Regions from separate parts of the Homo sapiens genome. Here region 1 is linked to region 2. The links are contacts of gene promoters, found by promoter capture Hi-C in blood cells and fetal thymus (Javierre and others, 2016). All regions are on one chromosome and are shown on one strand. Each heading gives the region's core, a stretch centred on a gene start or on the middle of the fragment in contact. The rest is flanking DNA. Distances are from core to core; before and after follow the strand shown.

Region 1 (4,103 bases), core at 1,583-4,082, about 52 Mb before region 2:
ATGAAATCATTAATCTCCATCAGAGTTTTTGGGTGACCAGGTGCACTATTAATGAACAGTAATATTTGTAAAGGATTTTTTTTTTCTGAGCAGTAAAATAGTGGGTTTAAAATATTCAGTAAACCATGTTGTAAACAGATGTGTTGCCATTCAGGCTTCGTTGTTCCATTTCTAGATACAGGCAGAGTAGATTTAGAATAATTCTTTTTTTTTTTTTTTTTTTTTTTTTGAGACGGAGTCTCTCTCTGTCACCCAGGCTGGAGTGCAGGCCCAATTTCAGCTCACTGAAACCTCCACCTCCCAGGTTGAAGCGATTCTCCTGCCTCAGCCTCCTGAGTAGCTGAGATTACAGGCACCTGCCACTATGCCCAGCTAATTTTTGTATTTTTAGTAGAGACAAGGGTTCATCATGTTGGTCAGGCTGGTCTCGAACTCCTGACCTCGTGATCTGCATGAGCCACCGTGCCTGGCCAGATTTAGCATAATTCTTAAGGGCCCTAGGATTTTCAAAATGGTAAACAAGCACTGGCTCCAACTGACAACCACCAGCTACATTAGGCCTTAACAAGTGAGTCAGCCTGGCCTTTGAAACTTTGAAGCCAAGTATTGACTTTTCCTCTCTAGCTATCAAAGTCTTAGATGTCATCTTCTTCCAATAGAAGGTTGTTTCATCTCCATGAAAAATGGCCACCTTCATCAATGATCTTAGCTAGATTTTCTGGTCAACTTGCTACAGCTTCTTCATCAGTACTTGCAACTTCACCTTGCTCTTTTATGTTACGGAGATGGCTTCTTTCCTTAAACCACATGAACCTCTGCTATCTTCAAACTTTTCTTCTGCAGTTTACTCATTTCTCCCAGACTTTAAGATAATTCAGAATCAGGGCCTTGCTCTGGATCTGGCTTTGGTTCAAGGAAATGTTGTGGCTAACTGGATCTTCTACACGGACCACTCAAACTTTCTTCATAGCAATAAGGCTGTTTATCTTTCTTATCATTCATGTGTTTAGTGGAGTAGCACTTTCAGTTTTCTTAAAGAACTTTTGCTTTGCATTCACAACTTGGCTAACTGATACAAAAAGCCTAGCTTTCTTTTGACAAAACTTTCTCACTAATCTTGATCATTTCTAGCTTTTGATTTAAAGTGAGACACATGCAGTTCTTCCTTTCACTTAAACACTTAGAGGCCATTGTAGGAATATAAAATGGCCTAATTTCAATACTGTCGTGTCTTAGGGAATAGGGAGGCCCACGGGGAGAGAGAAACAGGAGAATGTACTGGTCCCGGGGCAGTAAGAAACACACAACATTGATCTATTAAGTTTGCCGTCTTATAAGGGCATGGCTGGTGGCACCCCAAAACAATGACAAGAGTAACATTAAGAATCACTAATCACAGATTGTAATGAATATATTAATGGAAATATTTGAAGTATTGTGAAAATTACCAAAATATGACGCAGAGACACGAAGCAGGTACACGCTTTCGGAAAAATGTTGCAGATAGACCTGCTTGATGCAGGCTTGCCACAAACTTTCAATTTGTAAAAGCGGTATCTGTAAAGCACAATAAAGCTAAACACAATAAAAGGAGGTATGCCTGTAATTCCTGGTATGAAGTACCATAATTCTCCATTTTTTTCCCATTATTTGTTAATTTATTTCACATTTACTGAACTTATCTTGGTGAGACACACTGTGTGGCTGGAGAAATAGCAGGGAAGGAAATAGACAAGGCTCCTGCCCTTAGAGAGCTAGCTCTCTAGTAGGGGGAGACAAATCATTAACAAGTAAACTGTGCTAGAGTGAGGATTCAAGGGCCAACAACTAAATTTTGGTCCTTGTTTTCCTGGAGCCTACATTTTAGGGTAATTAAATAAAATATAAAAGACCTCAACACTGACTGGAACATAATAATTGATCAGTAAGTGTAAATTTTTATTACTGCTTAAAAAATTGGTTACAATCTGCCATTGAATTCATTGTTCAAGATTTCGTTCTGAATATTGGTGATGTGTTTTTGCCATTTGACTACCTTCTATAATTTGCCTTGCCTGTTTATATCCTTGGTCATAATTTTTCTGGTTTGCCTTTTACTAATGGACATGTAGTTCTGAGGCAGAATAGGGTCTGGAGGCAGGGAATGTTAAGGCCGATTCATGCTGACTTCCTGGAACTAAATCAAATTGCAGTACTTCAGCAATGACAGGAAACATCCTCTCCATTTACACAGGGCTTATATCCAGTAAATGACTTTAAAATTTACTTCATCCTCTTCATTTACATAGGGCATAAGCCAAGTAACCAATGGAAACCTCTAGCTGGCATTTAAACCCCAGAACATTCTCTAACGGCACTCTTGAGCCCCTATCCTCGGGCGCTCCCAACCTATGGGGTGTACTTTCATCTTCAATAAATCTCTGTTTTTGCTTCATTCTTTCCTTGCTTTGTGCGTTTTGTCCAATTCTTTGTTCAAGACGCCAAGAACCTGGACACATCAACTGGTAACAGCTCTTCATAGGATAAACACATGGCAACCACTTGTCTATTACATGTGCAGATAGTTTCCTTGTACCCCAATTGTCTTTTAGGTTCATTAAGGTCATATTTAAACATGGACTTTTGAAATTTGTTGTAGCTAAACCCGTATATAAGCATTTAGGCTTCCTCCTTCTTTGGGTCTTTTCTTGTGGACTCCCATGCACATAGCTGTAAGCTTTTCCCCTGTTAAACTGTCTTAAGTCAATTTAACCTCTTAGGCCCAGGTGGAAACCTTAAGAGGGTAGAGGGAGATTAGGTTCGCTCACTATTGGAAAAGCCTGTATTGCAACAGTGACGCTCTGCAGCTGCAGATAGGTGGCTTAAAGTTTCTTCCAACAAAAACATTCTGTTTCCACAAAGCAAAGTAAGGAAAGCTCTTAACGGAGTGTTCCCTAAAGAAAGCTTTTTTTTTTTCTTTGAGATGGAGTCTCGCTTTGTCGCCCAGACTGGAGTGCACTGGTGTGATCTTGGCTCACTGCAACCTCCGGCCTCCCGGGTTCAAGCGATTCTCCTGCCTCGGCCTCCCGAGTAGCTGGGCCTACAGGCGCGCGCCACCATGCCCGGCTAATTTTTTGTATTTTTAGTAGAGACGAGGTTTCACCATGCTGGCCAGGCTGGTCTCGAACTTCTGACCTCATGATCCGTCCGCCTCGGCCTCCCAAACTGCTGGGATTACAGGCGTGAGTCACCGCACCCGGCCAGGAAGGAAAGCTTTTAACCCGACGGCTCAGGGAGGACACCGGTAGCAGGACTAGAAGCAGCACAGTGGAAAGTAAGTTTGGCTTGGAAGCTAGGTCAAGCATGGGTGATAGGGAATTCGCCACTTAGTTTGAAGCAAATGGCCTCCTTGTTAAAGCTGAGTGCAGAGGGCCCGGCAGCAGTACTACAGCTAGCAGAACCAGCCCAGAAAACGAAGCCTTGGAGACTTGAGGTGGGTAGTGCCGGACGCAGAGCACAGGGCGCGGCTCCCACTTGCCTCCGGCTCCCGGAAGCGGGCGGGGCCACCTCGCGTCCCGGGGGCTAAAACCTGCGAGCGAGGACCGCGCGCCAAGGCTCCTCAGCCGAGCGCCGAGCGGTCGATCGCCGTAGCTCCCGCAGCCTGCGATCTCCAGTCTGTGGCTCCTACCAGCCATTGTGTAAGTGCGACTGCTGCCGGGCGCGCGGGCCGCGGAAGGGGGCGGCCGCCTCTCGCTCCCCAGGTTCCCGGATGGTGATGGGTTCGCGGAGAGAGGCGGCAGGGGCAACCCCTCGGACCTCATAGCGGCCCGCGCGGCCGGTCTCCGGGGGCCCCCGCCCGCGGCGGTGCTGTAGGCGAGCCGTGGCGGGTCCCCAGCGCCGGGTGCTGCGCCGCAGCTCAGCTGGCTCCTGGGTCCCGGAGCGCGCCGCTGCCGAGTGCCAGGTTCAGGCGGCTCCCGTGCTGTTGGTTCTGCGCGATGTTTAATTAAAACTGAGAGTCTAACTTCACTTTTTTTTTTTTAATGCAGAGGCCAATAATCCGTTATGGAGCATGCCTTTACCCCGTTGGAGCCCCTGCTTTCCACTGGTACTGTATTTCTTTCCAC
Region 2 (4,281 bases), core at 706-3,205:
TGGCTCACTGCAACCTCCACTTTCTGGGTTCAAGTGATACTTGTGCCTCAGCCTCCCCAGGAGCTGGGATTAAAGGTTTGCACCAACACAGCCGGCTAATTTTTGTATTTAGTAGAGTGAGGGTTTCACCATGTTGGCCAGACTGGTCTTGAACTCCTGACCTCAGGTGATCCACCTACCTCGACCTCCCAAAGTGCTGGGATTACAGGTGTGAGCCACGTGCCTGGCGTCAAACCAGAATTTTTTTTTTTTTTTGAGACAGAGCCTTGCTCTGTCATCTAGGCTGGAGGGCAGTGGCATGATCTCTGCTCACTGCAATCTCCACCTCCCAGGTTCAAGCAATTCCCATGCCTCAGCCACCTGAGTAGCTGGGACTACAGGTCCGCACCACCACACCCGGCTAATTTTTGTATTTTTAGTAGAGGAGGGGTTTCCATCATGTTGGCCAGGCTTGTCTTGAACCCCTGACCTCAAGTGATCTGCCTGCCTCGGTCTCCCAAAGTGCTGGGATTACAGGCGTGAGTCACCACGCCCAGGCTTCAAACCCAAATTTTTTTTTTTTTTTTTTTTTTGAGGCAGAGCTTCCCTCTTGTTGCCCTGTCTGGAGTGCAATGGCGCAATCTCGGCTCACTGCAACCTCTGCCTCCCGGTTTCAAGCGATTCTCCTGCCTCAGCCTCCCGAGTAGCTGGGATTACAGGCCTGCGCCACTAGACCCAGCTAATTTTGTATTTTTAGTAGAGAGGGGGGTTTCACCATGTTGGCCAGGCTGGTCTCAAACTCCTGACCTCGTGATCCGCCCACCTCGGTCTCCCAGAGTGCTGGGATTGCAGGCGTGAGCCACCGTGCCTGGCCAAACCCAACTTCTACTCTACCAAGCTACAGGACATTAAATTGTTAAGCATGGGAATGATGTGATGGATACAGTGTTTCAGTAAAGTTAACTTTTAAAAAGGCTGGAGGAAGATATGCTAGATTACGTTTTGGGGTAATTCAGTTATGAATGAGGGAAACTTGGGGCCAAAATGACAGAAATATGAATGGAAGAAATGAGGAAATGAGTCATTTCTTAACTTGCACATTACCTTGCACTTTGTAAGTTCATAAATTTAATAAGATAAACTTCAGTAAAGTCTTCTGCTGGGTATTCATCTAGAGCATTGTACTGTTCAATTGCACCATATAAAGCGAATCGCTCAACTAATTCCTTCATGACTCCCACAGCAGGAACTCCTTGTATTAATAAGTACTGAGATTCCAAATTGATTGTATATACCTGAAAGAAATGCAGAGTTATTAAACGTATTTCGCAAATAAGCCTAGGACGAATCTGCCTCTATTTTTTTTTAAAGAGAACTTTGAAAACAAGAAATAATCTGTTCAACCCAGTCAGCAAAAGAACACAAAATGAAATTTCTGCCATTCCTTCTGCATAAAGAATAACAGTCCATGTGAGAGGCTACCTAAGGCATATAACAGACTACCTTCAGTCGACATTTTTTTCCAGAAATTGAGTCGGTAGAAGTCACTGGGAACAATCACTCAACGAATATTCACTGAGTGCTTACCTGTGCCAAGTAGTACTGTAAACACAGAAGATCCAATGACTAAAACCAAGGCCTATTCTCGTGGAGTTGATGTTCTAATACTTGACCAAAGGCGTCGTGAGAATCTTTGGTAACTGACCGAGGGTTCTTCACGCCAGCTCTAACGAGAGACAGATCTGACGGAAGCCTTGTCGTGCCTTTATTTCCGTAGGCTGGTCATATGGCGCTAGCACTCACATAAAGCTACCGAGGAGAGCGAATGAAACCAAAATCACTTTACCTTCACAGCACGAGGCCGTCGTCCCTCTCGATATTTGGCCCGTGTGTCGCATACCGCCCTCTGGACGTGGTGATCAAATAAACTCCCTAGCTCCCCGCCGCTCGACGCCATCTTGCCTACTTTGATCCTCGCAGGGAGGACAACATCCGCCCTACTGAGCTCCCTTTTATCCAATAAGAGAGCGGGATGAGTTAAGGAGTGCCAGGATTGGCTGGAGAATCGACAGCGTCGGCCATCGTTTCCTGCGTGCGAAGATTTGATGAACGAGGTGCCGCCCCCGAGCGGCTCGGCGGAGAGGCGCGGTGGGTGACAGAAGCTTTCTTGTCCCACCCACTACAGGCTTACGGCAGGATGCGCAGCGGGGAGAGGGGGCGGGGCCGCAGGGGGCGGGGCCGATCGATCTCCTCCGGCTCCGACGTCCTCGGCCTGCCGGGTCCCGGGTCCTTTGCGGCGCTAGGGTGGGCGAACCCAGAGCGACGCTCCGGGACGATGTGGGGCAGCGATCGCCTGGCGGGTGCTGGGGGAGGCGGGGCGGCAGTGACTGTGGCCTTCACCAACGCTCGCGACTGCTTCCTCCACCTGCCGCGGCGTCTCGTGGCCCAGCTGCATCTGCTGCAGGTAACCTGCCGGCCCCGAGCCACCTGATCTTCAGCCTGGGGTCGGACGAGGCCGAAGCCTCTCAGGGACGCGGCGGGACACCGGCTGCCACCCGGGCGCCGCCGAAGCGCGCAGAGATCAGGGTCCCTCGACGGCAGGGCCCTTCTGGGTAGTCTCTGGATCCCACAAGTCCAGTGCAGCCCTGGGCTCGTCTTATCCCAGGTCTTTTCACTTGGTGAAACTGAACCTAGAAACGTCCTAATATTCTACCACTGTTTTTATAAATATTCCTTATTCCAGGCTGGAAAAGCTCCTGAGAAGTGGTTTGTTTTTATTATTTTAAAAGGTGTTTTCCTTGCCAGCCATTTCCAGTTAACCTGCGCTGCTGCCGTCCGGGCCGCGAGAGCGGGACGCAGAGTTGTTGGCGGAGCCCCTGTCGGTTCCCGGGGACTAAGCACCGCGTCCCATGAGCGGGAAAGGTTAATACAATGATGGTTCTGCCCTGCGTCGCTGACGCGGAACACAGCTGTAGTGTGTTAGGAACACATAACGTAGTTAAGATCACTTGAAGCTCTGCGATCAGTCGCCCTTCTGGACGTTGTGGTTAGGATGTTTCACAGTTCTAACCACTGGTGGAGATACAGCGTCCATATTTTCATAATTAAAAATAGAGGCACATGGTCTCACGAGTTTGAGTGTACTTATGGGGGCAAAAGGACGGCGTATTTGAAATCCTCATAAATCCTGGATGCATGGTACCCACCAGTGGCTAATCTATGCAATGAATAGAGTTTGCAATAATTTCAAGCATCCCTTCTTTCCACTTGAGTTACTTCCCCATACCTAGGGGAAGATATTTTTGGTCCACTGAAAACATGAGTTCAGCAGAATCCTCCTATCATCGTCGTTATTATTTTTTACCACTAAGTAGACAATCTTTTGGTTTTTGATGGGCTTTATGGCTAGAGACAAATCAGTCACTGTCACCAAGTTCCAGGTAGAAGTTGGTTCAGTGCTCTGTCAGCTTCGATGGGATTTTTCAACATGTTTTCAAATCTGCACTTAATAGTAGGAATGCTTTCTTACAGTAACTCTAATTTGATCCTAAGATGTAGTTGTTACCTTACATTCATCACTGTTTAAGAATTTAGTGGTCTTGATCTTTGTTTTAAATTTTGAGCCTTCGGGAAGTACTTATAAGAATTAATTCATGCATATCTTTTTGAAATGTAAATGTCTTTAGCCCTGGAACAAATTGCTGTTTCTGTTCAGCCCATATTAGCAGAATAGGTCAACTTTACTTTCTAATTATCAATGTAATAAGTTTATTACTTTATAGATTCCATAAATCTATACATTTATTCCTCGATGAATTATATAAATTTATAGAATTTATGTTTTATAGAAAATTTGGAAAGCATGGAAAATTATTAACAAGAAAATAAGTTACCCATAATCCCAGAACTTAGAGGTGACTAATGTTGACAGTTTGGATCAAATCTTCCAGTTTTGTTTCTAATCTTTATTTTTAACATAAATGAGGTCCTGTATACACACGTACAGTTTTGTGTCCTGGTGTTTTTATTTAATGTTATTATGAGTGTTTTATTTTGTTAAAAGGTCATCATTTTAAGTTGTTAATTAGTATTCTAGCACAAATTTGCCATAATTTATTTAATTGTTTACTATGATTGACCATTTAGATTGTACTTAATTTTTAGGCATTAGAAGTGATAAACTATATTTTAATCAGACGTTGAAAATAACACATCTTTGTTTAGAAAACATCATTTTATTTCTGGTTGTCTAGGATAGATTCCCAGAATTCTTGGGTTAGAGGCCATAGATAATTATGAAAG

The links. The method cuts DNA at HindIII sites, captures the fragments that hold promoters and counts their contacts. A CHiCAGO score of 5 or more calls a contact.
Region 1: a contact is called between a fragment that was not itself captured here and the fragment with the promoter of RBM48 in region 2, in 1 of 17 cell types (non-activated CD4 T cells). The highest score is 9.6, in non-activated CD4 T cells.

Annotation. Positions count from the first base shown.
Region 1 is chr7:144,835,541-144,839,643 of GRCh38, reverse strand. TPK1 (thiamin pyrophosphokinase 1) reads left to right here and starts at 3,591. Exons shown (of 9, transcript NM_022445.4): 1 at 3,591-3,677; 2 at 4,026-4,084. The coding sequence starts at 4,042. RefSeq lists an enhancer at 3,381-3,450 and a silencer at 3,751-3,850. The HindIII fragment of the contact is 227 bases long and covers 2,719-2,945 here.
Region 2 is chr7:92,526,469-92,530,749 of GRCh38, reverse strand. It overlaps RBM48 (RNA binding motif protein 48), which reads right to left and starts at 1,955. Exons shown (of 5, transcript NM_032120.4): 1 at 1,826-1,955; 2 at 1,084-1,274. The coding sequence starts at 1,936. PEX1 (peroxisomal biogenesis factor 1) reads left to right here and starts at 2,230. Exons shown (of 24, transcript NM_000466.3): 1 at 2,230-2,443. The coding sequence starts at 2,315. RefSeq lists enhancers at 1,652-2,031, 2,632-2,811 and a silencer at 2,172-2,401. The HindIII fragment of the contact is 3,452 bases long and covers 1-2,143 here.